Regions from separate parts of the Homo sapiens genome. Here region 1 is linked to region 2. Evidence: promoter capture Hi-C in 16 types of primary human blood cells and fetal thymus (Javierre and others, 2016). All regions are on one chromosome and are shown on one strand. Each heading gives the region's core, a stretch centred on a gene start or on the middle of the fragment in contact. The rest is flanking DNA. Distances are from core to core; before and after follow the strand shown.

The links. The method cuts DNA at HindIII sites, captures the fragments that hold promoters and counts their contacts. A CHiCAGO score of 5 or more calls a contact.
Region 1: a fragment that was not itself captured here is called in contact with the fragment with the promoter of OXSM in region 2 in 6 of 17 cell types (non-activated CD4 T cells, total CD8 T cells, naive CD8 T cells and 3 more); the score reaches 12.8 in non-activated CD4 T cells.

What each region holds. Positions count from the first base shown.
Region 1 is chr3:20,187,655-20,195,048 of GRCh38, forward strand. It overlaps the pseudogene RNY4P22. Among named protein-coding and RNA genes, the nearest start is that of SGO1, 5.1 kb to the left of the region's middle. The HindIII fragment of the contact is 1,792 bases long and covers 2,919-4,710 here.
Region 2 is chr3:25,784,202-25,791,626 of GRCh38, forward strand. It overlaps OXSM (3-oxoacyl-ACP synthase, mitochondrial), which reads left to right and starts at 5,889. Exons shown (of 3, transcript NM_017897.3): 1 at 5,889-5,946; 2 at 6,789-7,425. The coding sequence starts at 6,820. It also overlaps a transcript of NGLY1 not described here. RefSeq lists enhancers at 5,368-5,897, 6,037-6,106, 6,117-6,186 and a silencer at 5,715-5,934. The HindIII fragment of the contact is 1,038 bases long and covers 5,223-6,260 here.

The DNA of each region.
Region 1 (7,394 bases), core at 2,565-5,064, 5.6 Mb before region 2:
ACTCCATTAACCCTCAGTTTACTGCCACTGGGCAATGTGGCTTATATGTGTAGAAGCATCAAGAAGGAATGGGCAGAGAGGTTTTTTGTTGTTTGAGGTCAGAAAATTATGAAGTGGAACATGAGAGCAGAGAATAGGGCCAGCTTCATGAGCAGGCAACCGGTGCTTAGAAGGGCTGTACATTTGGTTTAATGCTCTGCTGTTGCCGTCTTGAAATGCTTAGGAGTTTATATTTGAACTTATGTTTTGTAAGTGATGTCTGATGAGACAATGGAGCAATCTTGTGAGCAGATGTGATTCATGCAATGTGTGTGTCTGTCACTGTTTCTTGCCCCATGTCATACAATGTTCAGGATGCGCACTAAATGGCCTCCATGAACCACTTATTTTGTAGTTAGGGACCTAAGTACAAAGTGCTCAGAAGGGCTCACCCTTGCCCTCTTGAAATTATTATTATTTTCTTTGAGACGGAGTTTTGCTGTGTCTCCCAGGTTGGAGTGCAGTGACATCATCTTAGCTCACTGCAACCTCTGCCTCCCAGGTTCAAGCAGTTCTCCTGCCTCAGCCTCCCAGGTAGCTGGGATTACAGGGACCCACCACTACGCCCCCTAATTTTTGTATTTTTTTGTAGAGACAGAGTTTTGCCATGTTGCCTAGGCTGGTCTCAAACTCCTGAGCTCAAGTGATCTGTCTGCCTCAGCCTTCCAAACTGGGATTACAGGCTAAGCCATCATGCCCAACCACGTTACTATATTTTCTAACCACTTACACTAAAAGTGATGGCATGAAAGGAAAAGGAAAGATAAGACATTCCACAATTCCTTTTCTTTTCAGTCTTTCTCTACTTATCGGTAAGCTGAAGGTTTTTGTCTTGGATTTTGAACAAGGAGCATCATATTTTCATTTCACATTGACCCACACAGATTATATAGCTGGCCCTGACCAAAGGCTTTGAGGTTCTGACTTTTTGAGGGGTGTCTTCCCCGTTCCCAATTTAAAAATGGGTCAGACTTCAAATCAGGTGTTTATTATAGAGCCCTAAAGAATAGAAATGGCTGAATTTAGGGGCAGTGAGGGAAAATACCACCAGAGTCCTAGCATGAGTAACTTTTGTACATCAAAATGTTCTACTGCCGCTGATTTTAGGGAACTGAATTACTGTTGGAATCAATAGCTCTTTTAAAATTTTGTGGAAACTACAACTCTTCCCAGGAAGAATGCACATATTCCTTTTTGAACAAAAATATGCATATTTCAAAGAGTACTAAATGGTGGACTGGAGTTTGAACCCAGGAAGCCTGGCTCCAAAGTCCATGCTATTAACAGCTGGACTATGTTCTGCGACTTCTCCCTTTTGTTATATCACAGTTGTACCCAGCCTAATTCAGAGATAATCCATGGTTTAATTATATCGCAAAGTACAGTGTAGGAACACATCATCTAGCTGACAAACTGAGAAGAACCTATGAAAGGGTAACCAATTAGTGAAAATTCTTTGTTTAATTTAATAGATGTTTAGAATAGTTATGGTATAATTCAAATCATTTTAACTTCTTAAAAAGCTTGCTCTCAAATGATAGTGAATATTTGTAGCTGCATTACTTTCAAGGTTTTTCAAAATGTGAATGCATGTTATTTCTACTTTCATTGGTTTTAACTTTATGATGTATTTAAAATATAATGAGCACTCACATTCTCCCCTGCAAGTTCCTAAAATCCCAATAAAACTGCTTGTTACTAATCTTTAACTGCCTTGTTCCTAACATTTATTACTATGTGCAGATTTTATGATTTTTATTTACGGAGCTGAAGTCCTGCACAGACTTGATATCTTCTTCTGATTTCTTCTTGGTGGTGGTGGTTGTTTTCTGACAGGGTTTGTCACTCTGCTGCCCAGGCTGGAGGGTAGTGGTGCGATCATGGCTTGCTGCAGCCTCAACTTCCCAGGCTCAAGTGATCCTACCACCTCAGCCTTCTGAGTAGCTGGGACCATAGGCATGCATTGCTATGTCCAGCTAATTAAAAAAAAAAAATCTGTAGAGACAGGGTCTTGCTATTTTGCCTGGGCTTGTCTCGAACTCTTGGGCTCAAACCACTCTCCTGCCTTGGCGTCCCAAAGTGCTGGGATTACAGGCATGAACCACCATGCTTGGACTTCTCCTGAATTTTTATCAATATTATTATTTTGTATTTTATTATTTCTTTCTGGTTCATGTTCTCTTGTGATCTCCTTATTTTTAAAGAAAAAAATTAAACTCCTCTCTGTTTATTTGACAATCAAAAATATATTAATGTGTCTCCTCTCTGGAATTAATATTTTAAAAAAATTTTTTGAGAAAGTTTAATACAATAGTTATCATGGAATGTGGTGCGGATTAACTTGAATAGCAATACAAAAATTAGTAATTTGGTGACCAAAATTTTCAAAACTGAAATACAGCAAGGCATCAAAATGTTTTGTGACTGTATTTTTTTGACGTCTGCTTTTATTAGTTTAGTACTTTCTTCAGCTCAATAGTGACAGGCTTTGGAGAGTTTGTACATGCATAAAGTGGGCAGAAGACTACAAGGAATAGATAGCACTTTATGCTGTTTTTATGTTTCATTTGTGTTTTTCAGAAATATGCATATGTATTGCTTTCATAAGGCTATTATTTATTGTATAGTGGAATTCATGTCTTTTTTTTTTTTTTTTTTTTTAGTGGTTCCCATTTCTCTTAGCATAGCGAGACATGTGAACAATTAGTTGAATTATAACAGCTAACACTGAATGAGGGCATACTTTCTGCCAGGAAAATACTAGTGCTTTATATGAATTAACTCATTTTATCCTTGTGATAAAGCTTATAAACCTATTTTTTCAGATGAAGAAATAGAGGCGTAATGTGGTGAATCTAGTAAGCATGAAGCCAGGTACAAGCTTTGCTGTCAATCTGACTCCAGGGCCTGTGTCCTTAATCATGATACTATATACTTTAAATACATTTACATTTATTGATGTTGCTTTGACCTTTGTCAAATCATTCAAATGTCTAAAGGCCTACCACATACAGATGTGAGGAAGTCTTTGTGATGGCTAATGTGAGTGTAAGTCCCAGAGGAAAAGGGATACATACACACATACCAGAGTTATGTCATTTTTGTTAAGGCTTTATGCTAGAAACACAAATTATTGATGCTATGTTATTTTGTTGCTAATTTTGGTTTTGTGTCATGTGCTGATATCATGAACCAGTAAACACTTATGGATCATTAAAAGGGATATAAGCATTAAAAGGACAATAAGAATAGTCGAGTACGATCAAAATCAGTGTTTAGTTCCATCTCAAGCAGCCTGGTAAGAATAAGGCAGAGAGAAATTTAACACATACGGAGAGAAGGCAATGTGAAGATGAAGATAGAAATTATAGTCATGAGGCCACAAGCCAGGCACAGAGAGGGTGATGTGAAGACTAGCAGAGGGAAAGATGTCACAAACCTAGGAATGCCGACAGCTGCCAGAAACTGGAAGAGGCAAGGAGTGGATTTCGTTCTGAGCCTCCAGAGGGAGTACCACCTGCTGACACCTTGGCTTTGGACGTCTGGCCTTCAGAACTGTGAAAGAATAAATTTCTTTCGTTTTAAGTGACCCCACTTGTGGTAATTTGTAATAGCAGCCCTAGGAAACTAACATACCACCTATCCAACAAAGGACTAGTCTTTATAATAAGTATATAAATATCCAAATTCAACAGGGAAAAAGCAAACAATCCAATTAGAAAATGTGCAAGGCTGGGCACAGTGGCTCATGCCTGTAATCCCAGCACTTTGGGAGGCCCAGGCGGGCGGATCACGAAGTCAGGAGATCAAGATCATCCTGGCCAACATGGTGAAACGCCGTCTACTAAATATACAAAAATTAGCTGGGTGTGGCACAGTGTGTGCCTGTATTTCCAGCTACTAGGGAGGCTGAGGCATGAGAATTGCTTGAACCCAGGAGGCGGAGGTTGCAGTGAGCCGAAATCATGCCACTGCATTCCATCCTGGCAACAGAGCAAGAGTCCGTCTCAAAAAAAAAAAAAAAAGAAAAAAAGAAAATGTGGAAAAGACATGCACAGAAATTTTACTAAAGAGGATAACCCGATGTCAGATAAGCCTGTGAAAAAAATGTTTTGACATGGTTAGTCGTCAGGGAAATGAAAATTAAAACCACAATGAGATAGCACTACACATCTATCAGAATAGCTAAAATAAAAAAATAATGGCAACAGCAAATGCTGGTGAGGATGCAAAGAAACTGGATCACTCAGACATTGCTGGTGGGAATATAAAATGATACAGTAACTGCAAAACAATTGACAGTTTCTTAACAAACTAAATATTTGATTACCATATAACCCAGCAGTTGCACTCTTGGGGATTTTTTCCCTTAGAGAAACAAAAACTTACGTTTGCACAAAAACTTGGACATAAGTACAGGCTTTATTGATAATAATTTAAAACTGGAATAATCCCAGATGTACTTCAAAAAGGGAATGAGAGTATGGTACATCCATACCAAGGGAAATAAATAAAAAGGAATGAACTACTGATACATAAACAGTTTGGATGAATCTCCTAGGAATTATATTGAGTGAAAAGGGTCAGTCCCAAAAGGTTACATACTGTATGATTCCATTTATATAATACTTTTTTTTCAGGGGTGAGTAACTTTATTTTGATAAAATCATAAGCTTTGAAAAAACTTGCTCACACCTGTAATCCCAGCACTTTGGGAGGCTGAGGCAGGCAGATCACCTGAGGCCGGGAGTTCGAGACCAGCCTGGCCAACATGGTGAAATCCCGTCTCTACTAAAAATACAAAAATTAGCCAGGTGTGGTGGTGCACGCCTGTAATCCCAGCTACTTGGGAGGCTGAGGCAGGAGAATCACTTGAACCTGGGAGGCAGAGTTTGCAGTGAGCTGAGATTGAGCCACTGCCCTCCAGACAGAGCGAGACTCTTGTCTCCAAAAAAAAAAAAAAAGAAAGAAAGAGAAAATACTTGCATGAGTAAAAAGAACTATTTTTTTAGTCAAAACAACCTATTGTGAAAGTTTTGCCTCATTTATTTCATCATGTTTATTTCTTTATATATAAACATAGTTTTTTTTAAGCCAGTCAAATTTAGTGGGGGGTTATATATCAACCTTAGTGACACTAATATTAATAAGTTCTGATAACCCACTACCATCAGACCAGCCTAAACATAGTTTTTTCCCCATGAATTAGTTGAGAGTAAGTTGTAGACATTATGTACCTGTACCCATAAATATATAGTCTTTGTTCCCTAAGAGCAAAGATATTTTTTACGATATAATGATCAAAATCAGGAAATTTAACATAGATATGATATTCCTACCTAAACAACAGTTTGTCTTTAAATTTTGTCAAGTTTCCCAGTAATGTTGTTTATGGCTTTTTTTTTTTTTTTTTTTTTTTGGCCCGGGATCCAATTCAGGATATTGCATTACATTCAGTTGTCACATTTCTTTATTCTTTAATCTGATCATCAAATCTTTCTTTTATCTTTCTTGGTATCAACAGTGTTTAAGAGTATAGGCCAGTCACTTTGGGAGGCCAAGGCAGGTGGATTGCTTGAGGTTGAGTTCGAGACCAGCTTGAGCAACATGGTAAAATCCTGTCTCTACAAAAAAATACAAAAACTAGCTGGCAACAGTGGTATGCACCTGCAGTCCTAGCTGCTTGGGAAACTGAGGCAGGAGAATCGCTTGAGCCTGGGAGGCAGATGTTGCAGTGAACCAAGATCACACCATTGCAATCCAGTTTTGGCAATGGGAATGAAATTGTCTCAAAAAAAAAAAAAAGTATGGGGCAGTTATTTTGTAGAATGTCCCCCAGTTTGGGTTTCTCCAGTGCTTCCTTGAAGTTAGATTCAGGTTATTCATTTTTGACAGGAATACAAAGTGGTGTTTGCTCTTTCTGTGCATCATATCTAGAGACCTATGCTATCTATAGGTTTAATTACTGGTGATTTCTTTAAATAAATGAGAATTAATTTAATCACTTTGAACTATTACATCAGTTTCAGAGGCAAACCAACTTCTGAGCTTTTTCATTATATTCACTTATTCCTTCAGTCATCATCTCATTTATATAAGTTTTTCTTCTTTTTTTTAACTTTTATTTTAGGTTGGAGGGTATATATGAAGGTTTGTTACATAGGTAAACTCATGTCACAGGGGTTTGTTGCACAGATTATTTCTTCACCCAGGTAGTAAACCCAGTACCCCTCAGTGTTTGTTGTTCCCCTCTTTCTGTTCATGAGTCCTCATCATTTAGCTCTCACTTATAATTGAGAACATGCGGTATAAGGTTTTCTGTTGCTGCATTAATTTGCTAAGGATAATAGGCTCCAGCTCCATCCATGTTCATTTAAAAGCCATGATCTTGTTCTTTTATATGACCGCATAACATTTTTAAAATGACAAAATTTTAGAAAGGAGGGCAGACTAGTGTTTGCCATGGAATAGAAATAAAGATAGGGAGTGGTAGGAAGAAGGTAGGTATGATTTAGGGCAACCTGAAGGATCCTTGTGATATACCGTTTCCCCCCAACCTCTAAAAAATAAATAACAGATTAATTGAGATATAATTCACATACCATAAAATTCACCAATTTAAAGTGTATAATTCAATTTTTTTTGTATATTCACAGATATTTGCAACCATTCTTCCAATCAATTTTAGAAAATTTCCACCACCTCAAAAAGAAATCCTGTAAGTATTAGCAGTAATTCCCTATTTCTCCCTCTACAGCACTAGTCTACTTTCTCTCTCTAGATTTGCCTACTTGATACATTTCATATAAATGTAATCATGGAATATTTGGGCTTTTGTGACTGGCTTCTTTCACTTAGCATAATGATTTTAAGGTTTATCTATAATGTATCACATAACCATATTTCATTCCCTTGTATTGTCCAATGAAATATGCCATTGTATTTTTCTGCCACTTTGTATTTATCCATTTATATGCTAATGGATATTTAGCTTGTTTTTTTCTTTTTAACTATTATGAATAATGCATCTATGAACAATTGTGTACAGGTTTTTGTATGGACATATATTCTCATTTCTCTTGGATATATATTAAGAATGGAGTTGCTGGGTCACATAGTAACTCTATGTTTAATCATCTGAGGAATTGCCAGATTGCTTTCCCAAGCAGCTGCACCATTTTACTTTCCCACCAGCAGTACATGAGGGTTCCAATTTCTCTGTTTACGCACCAACACTTGTCATTATCTTTCTTCTTGATTCTAGCCATCCTAGTGGGTATGAATGGTATCTCACTGTGGATTTCATTTGCATTTCTCTGATGGTTAATGATATCAAGCATCTTTTCATGTACTTA
Region 2 (7,425 bases), core at 4,639-7,138:
AATCTAAGTTCCAGCTCAACTAGTATATGATTCCTCTGTAAGGAAGTGTATTTTTAAACCATAGGTTGCGACATAATAATGGGTTGTGGATTCGGTTTACCGCGTGGTGACCAGCGTAAAACACATGCATAATAATTACGCAATATTATAGAATGTCGGGGGCGGGAAGGGAATAAAAATTTGCATCCCACACAGTAAGGGTAAGTAATATTTTGTGACTTGTTTTTTAGGTAGATCATGTGATCAAGGTCTTTTATTCCTCTTAGAAGATGCATCCCTTACTACTTTAATCCAGTCTCTTCCCCACCATGTTCTTGAAAGTGTACTTTACCAGTGGCTTCCTTCTTTGCAGAAATTCCTTTTCAACCTCACGAAGTATTTTTCTTGACTTTATTTCTTAAGATAAGTGATTTGCCTGAATAACCTCTTTTAAATTTCTTGATGTTTCATCTGTTTACTTTTAAGAATTGAAATTTTCTTCCAGAATCTCCGAACAAGACCCTAAGCTATGACATCCAGTTCAATGACTATTCGTCTCCCAAATATACGTACGCTTTTAATAAATATGTAAATCTTTGGACCACCTTCCAAGTATGGTGTGTTCAACAGATAGTAGTATGTTACTACCGTCTGTAACTAAAATTTTCAGGGGCTTAACACAAGAGTAATTTCTTTCTGGCTCATATAACACTTTAATAATGCAGGTGTCATAATGTCAGTGGACCCAGTCTCCTTCCATACCTTAGAACAGGGGTCAAGAAACATTTTCTGTAAAGGGCCACATAGTGTTTTAGGCTTTGTGAGCCATAAGGTCTGTCTCAACTATTTAACTCTGCCTCTGCAGCTGTTGCTCCACAGACAATACTTGAAAATAAATGGGCATGGTTATGTTCTAGTGAAATTTTATTTACAAATCCAGGCAGCCTGCTTGGACAAAAAAAAAAAAAAAAAAAAAAAAGTCACACCTACTTTTAACCACATGAGCCCAGAAATGACACACAGCATTTTCTCTACCATATCATTACTAAGAATGAGGCCTCATCAAGATAAAAGGGGGTATTTCAGTAAGGCCAGATTTACAAAAAATAAAAAAAAAATTTAAAAACACATAAAAAGATAAAAGGGGAGAGTCTGGGAAATGTAGTCTCGTCCAACTACACAATGGATTGGGGGCTTGGGTCTGGAGATATAGCTATCACAAACTTTATTCCTCTTAATTTGGGTTTCTTTTTCCATTGATACATTTATTTATCCTTTACTAATTATATGAGAATAGTATATATTATACAGTACTTGTAACTTTTAAAAATGCAACAGAACTTTTTTTTTTTTTTCAAATAAAATTTTAGGGGCTGGACATGGTGGCTCACGCCTGTAATCCCAATACTTTGGGAGGCCGAGGTAGGTGGATCGCTTGAGCCCAGGAGTTCAAGACCAGCCTGGGCAACATGGCAAGACCCCATCTCTACAAAAAAAAAACAAAAACAAAAACATAGGAAGATTGTCTATATACAAAACACCAAAGTGGAAATGCTCTGGTATTGAAGCAGAGGTGTCAAGTGAAGGGCAGAAAGCTGTCAGCTAAGGCTTTCCCCTGACAGATAGAATGGTCATAGGGTACTTTTGTGGGGGAACAAAATGACTTTTGTTTTTCTCTTCATAATAGTTTGTTTCCTCAACTAAAACGCTATCTCACTGTAAGTTATCATTAGTTTTGTCTTCCCTATTTGATTAAAAGTCTCTTGTGCCATCTGTCTCAGACTGCTTTGCACACAGCAGGTACTGAATAGAGTTGTTGGTTAATCACTCAATGTAGTCACACAATAGTGAATCACTATACAAATTCCTGAAAGACTTCAACTCCTCCCCTTGCTAATGGTTTTTATGGAGGTTAACTTTTTAATATCACCAAACCAATCGTGGGGAAAATTTACAGAGTTCTTTCTTTTTTGTTTTATTAAAGAATAGTGTTAGCCAGGCGTGTTAGTGCACACCTGGAGTCCCAGCTACTTGGGAGGCTGAGAGGCAGGAGAATCGCTTGAACCCAGGAGGCAGAGGTTGCAGTGAGCTGAGGTTGCCCTACTGCACTCCAGCCTGGGTGACAGAGCGGGACTCTACCTCAAAAAAAAAAAAGAATAGCGCCATGATATGTCAACTCTAAAAATGATGTTTTTAATAAAGGTGAAATCCTGGGGAAAAAAAAAATCTTTATTTTGGAACAAAAATAAATAAATAAAAGAACAAGAATTTCAATGCTGATTTAGTACCCATTCTTTGGTTGTTTGAAACAACGATGGGTATAAAAGTTAGGGTAGCTTATTCAGCTTTTCTAAAGGAAATGGAAGAATTAGAATATCTCCAACTTGACTGAAGTGGGGGAAGCAGCCAGGAAAATGAGAGACCAAGTCCCTTTATATAATGGATTCCCTTAATAGCTTTATAAATGGCAATATTCAAAAGAGATTACAGTTACTCAAGAACTTTAACAGAAGTGTTGCTAAAGAGTTATTTGGAAGGACTTAAATTTCAGATGATTTTTTTAAAATGGTGATTTCCATGATTTTATGGACTGTACATTGTTATCACAATATTAATGCTATGGCATTGGTTTTCGCAAAAGTCATTTGGTGAGAAATGCACAAAAAGTGCATGTGTACTATCAAATGTAAGGATAAATGTTGATTTATTCATTCCATAATTCATTCATTCATCATGTATTTATGAAGTGACTACTAGTTGCTCAGCACTGTGAAGGAGACAAGTATGGTCCCTACTTTCATAGAAGTCATAAGTTTAGAGCAGTGGTTGGACAAGCAACAGCAGCATCAGCAGGAAACTTGTCAGAAAAACAAATTCTGAAGCTCCACATTTAAAGGTGGGACCCAGCAATCTGTGTGGTAACAAGCCCTTCAGGTGATTTTGATTAACAGTAAACTTTGAGAACTACTAGTTTAGAGGGAGGAAAATTTCACTGTGGGCTGCAGTTTCAGTGAGGGGGGACAACTTGAACAGAAGCCTTAAATTGAGAGGTTGAGAAGGTGAGAAAGGAGAGGACTTGCTACCTGTGAGAGACTCCCCACCCTCCTTAAATCATGTACAATATCCTAGTAACGTTTCCTTCTCAACATCTCCTGGATCTCTCCTTGCCATTGCCTTCAGAGCCTCGTGTTTCATCCATTCTTAACTTTCTTCCCTGTGTCCATTTCCACATCCTTCCAACCCACCCTGCTCATTTGTGCAATAGTGATCTTTCTAAAGCACCCATCTGATCATGTTGTTCTCCTGGTAAAAAGTTTTCTATGGCTCCCTCTATCCACATTCTAAAGTCAAATGGTGTCAGGAACCAGGCTGGTAAGTTAAATATTTTAAGTGGCTTTGTTCAAGACAAAGAGGAGTAAGAGAGACTCCAGTGAAGGGAATGAGAGAGTTTACCATGTCCTTTCTAGAGGAGTTTAGAATCAATAAAAGAATGTTGCACTCCAAATTATACCATGAAGGCTAGCATATGGTCTCTGAACTACGGGATTAAATCCAAAGTCCTCAGTATGATACCCCAGGCTTTTGTGATCTGGGCCCTGCCTTACTCTCATGCGTTTACTGTTGCTTTGTCCCACACTTCAAATTTGACATGGGCCACATATTTAGCTGTTTGTGGAAGATACCATGACACTTCATTTCTCCAGGCCTTTGTTCTCCTCCTGCCAGGATGCCCTTTCCCACCCAATTTACTAGACAAACATTCATTTCCAAGATGCAGTTCAAGGATCATTTCTCTGAAGCCTTTTCTGACTTTACGAGGTAGCACAGACCTCATTGTCCCTTTTGTGTTATAATAATTCCACTATAGCACCTGTTTCAACAGTTTGCACTTACTTGTTTCTATGGGTGTCTCCCTTTACTAGACCATAAACTTCTTGAAAGCAAGAGCCATACCTCTACTCATTTTTGCATTCAAACTTCAAGCATTGATAGGAAGAAAATGAGTGGTTGTTGAAAATAGCAAAAGCACAGAGATGAGAAAAGTTAGGGTCAATCAAGACATGTATAGTGAGAAAATCAGTTTGCTGGGTGGCAAGCTCATTTAATAGAGAATGGGAGCCATAATTGGAAAGATAGTTTTGAATCAGATTACAAAGAATTTAAGGCAAACCTAGGAAGTCTTAATAGGAGGGTAGGATAAGCAGAGCCCATTTGAAGATTTTGGTGCAAGAAGACACGATGGAATTGTAGCAGGAAATATGGTACCAAATATGTAAAGCCATTAAATATCATAAAATTTCCCACCCTTTTCCAGATCAAAGAAAAGGTGATAAGAGGTAGATACAAAAATGATGGTCTTTTTATTTTTCTGAAAGATTTTGTCACCTCTTAGCCAAGACGATTTTGTGATATTACAAAAGAAATAGCACATTAAAACTGTATGTTTCTTATGAGTTCAGCTTCAGAGAAAATATTGTAGGTATTTTCACACTATTATTTTAAAGACAGCAATGAAAAGAGATCAAGTTTAGGTACTTACTCATCAAGTGTTACTTTATAACCACATGTGTTTGTTTTAATTCTTCAAGAAACTCTACTTTGTCACTGAATGAGGATCAACTAGAGGTGACTGGTTAGGCCTGGGACGAAGGTCAAACTGAGCTTTGCTGAATTATTTTAAACAAAATAGATTTCCAAACTCATTTAAATCCAGGACCAACCTGGAAAGCTAAGCTTGACTCACATTCTTCTGTAGGGGTAGGAAAGAATGCAGAGCACTCTACTTGGAAACAATGGCTTCAAGAGGCATTGCCCAGAAAAAACCATAAATATGACTAGAAGGTCCAGATGAAGATTCTATGCTCAACCATTTTTCTAAAGAAGAGCAAGGACAAAACTCACGCCTGGGATAGCATGTGAAAAACAGATGTTCGATGAATACCATCTTGTCGACTTCTTGCTTTTTTACATTTTCATGTTATATTTTCCCTTTATCGGTTTGCAGTCAGCTCTAAGCAAACAGTTAATGAATTTTTCACACTTAGAAACAAATGTCTCCATTGTGACAATGGAGACAATTTTTGAGCACTGTCTCAAATCTGGTGATAATTTTTTTTTAAGTGAAAGGAAGTTTATTAGGAAAGTAAAGGAACAAAGAATGACTACTCCATAGGCAGAACAGCCTGGTGACAACTTTTAAAAAGTAAAAACTTTATTACAAAAACATTTGTTTATTGTAGAAAAGCTTTATTAAATAAAGCTAAGCAAAAATAAGGAGGGAAAGATCACAATCAGTATACATCTTGCAGACCTTTAAAGAATTATTTTTGAAAAAACGGATATATACTGTTTTGTAACTATGTCTCCTAACAAATAGTCGCAACATCTCATTAATAAATATTCACCTGCAGAATTATTTTAAACGGCTGCATGGCATTTGGATGTACCACAAGATACACAACAAATTTCCTGATGTTGGCCATTTTGGTTAATTCCACTTTACTCACAATTACTAATAACGTTGCGAGCTATAGCAATAACTTTGAAACTGCAGAGAATTTCCTTAATTCTTTCTTACAATTCCAGTAGAATACGATGGTGTCCCTTCTCCGACAAAAGGGAATATTTGGGCATTATCACTGCCAAAGAAAAATGCCTTTTTGATGGGTGAAAATGCTACCTCATCGCGTTATTGGCAGGTCCTCGATTATCGGCGAGTCACTGAGGTTCCGAGAGGGGCGTCTCTGCTCACGCAAACAGCTACCCAGCCGCCTCCCACGGTCTGACCTCAGCCAAGGTGACGCGGCTTAAAGTCAACCGGCGGAAAGAGAGTCGAACGGGACGCGTGCGTGGGAAAGCGCATGAGCGTACGTGCGAGCGCGCATGAGCGTACGTGCGTGTGCGCGTGCGCTCGAGAGCGTCATCGCCCCCGACTGTGGAGAAGTGTCCGGGGTAGCCCCGTTACAGGTATCGCTGGCTACCCTCCTCCTTCGCCCCTCCTTTCCTCCTTTACATTCAAATCAAGTCGGGGTTGAATTTCGAGAGGGGAGTCCGAGGACCTGGGGCCTGATTTCTTTTTCTCTCGCCATGCTTCTTCGGGCTGTGTACATGTGTGGTGGTGCCTGAGAGGCGATACAGGGAATGGCTACACTCTTTTACTCCCGCCCCTGGCCTTCGTAGTACCCTTGAAGTGATCCACTAGTCGTAACCCCTCCTTCCACCAATGATTCAATTGGAGAAGTTTAGAGGAGTGGAAAGACTTGTCCCCTTCCCCCATCGCAAGCTTGGTCACAGAGTGTATTGCCAACCCATGTATCCAGACGCTCAGTCTAGGGCTCTTGGCCCTGGGTAGCGTTTTGAAAAGGCTGGTTATCCTTAAGTACTGAAGATTGATAAAGCCCACTTACTTACTTAAAAGAATATGCCCTGAAATGTGTTTTCTGTGCCACTGACACCAGAAATGCTATTTAGAAGAAGTTATCAGTAATCCTGACAAAGGATGCTTCCTGCAGCTCAAATCAGGCTGGAGGTGCCTTTATATTTTTCATTGAATTACTGTTTTGGTGACTCGAATGAATCATCAATTCATTTATTTGTCTTCAAATGTCTGACGGCACTTAAGGTCTAAAAAAGAAGGTAAGTTTAAACAGATAGTTTGATGTTAAGGTATAAATTGAAAGTATGTAACATTTTCCCTGTGTTCATTAGCAGCTCATATCAAGCACCCAAAGGAACACCTTGGATGTTTTTCCTTAGGCCCTTAAGCTATTTAAAAGAATACCTCCTAGGTGTGTTGTGGTCTTTTACAGGAATGTGTTTCTGATCATCTGAATCTTAATCATGTCCAACTGCCTGCAAAATTTCCTGAAAATTACAAGCACTCGTCTTCTATGTTCAAGATTATGCCAACAGTTAAGAAGTAAAAGGAAGTTTTTCGGAACTGTGCCAATATCCAGATTGCATAGGCGAGTTGTCATTACAGGCATTGGCTTAGTGACTCCTCTTGGTGTTGGAACTCACCTGGTTTGGGATCGTCTTATCGGAGGAGAGAGTGGAATTGTTTCACTGGTTGGTGAAGAGTATAAGAGTATCCCTTGCAGTGTTGCTGCTTATGTGCCAAGAGGTAGTGATGAAGGTCAGTTCAATGAACAAAACTTTGTGTCCAAATCAGATATCAAGTCCATGTCTTCTCCCACCATCATGGCCATTGGGGCTGCAGAATTAGCCATGAAGGATTCTGGCTGGCATCCTCAGTCAGAAGCTGATCAAGTGGCTACTGGTGTTGCAATTGGCATGGGAATGATTCCTCTTGAAGTTGTTTCTGAAACTGCTTTGAATTTTCAGACAAAAGGTTACAATAAAGTTAGCCCATTTTTTGTCCCTAAGATTCTGGTCAATATGGCAGCAGGCCAGGTCAGCATTCGATATAAACTCAAGGGCCCAAAT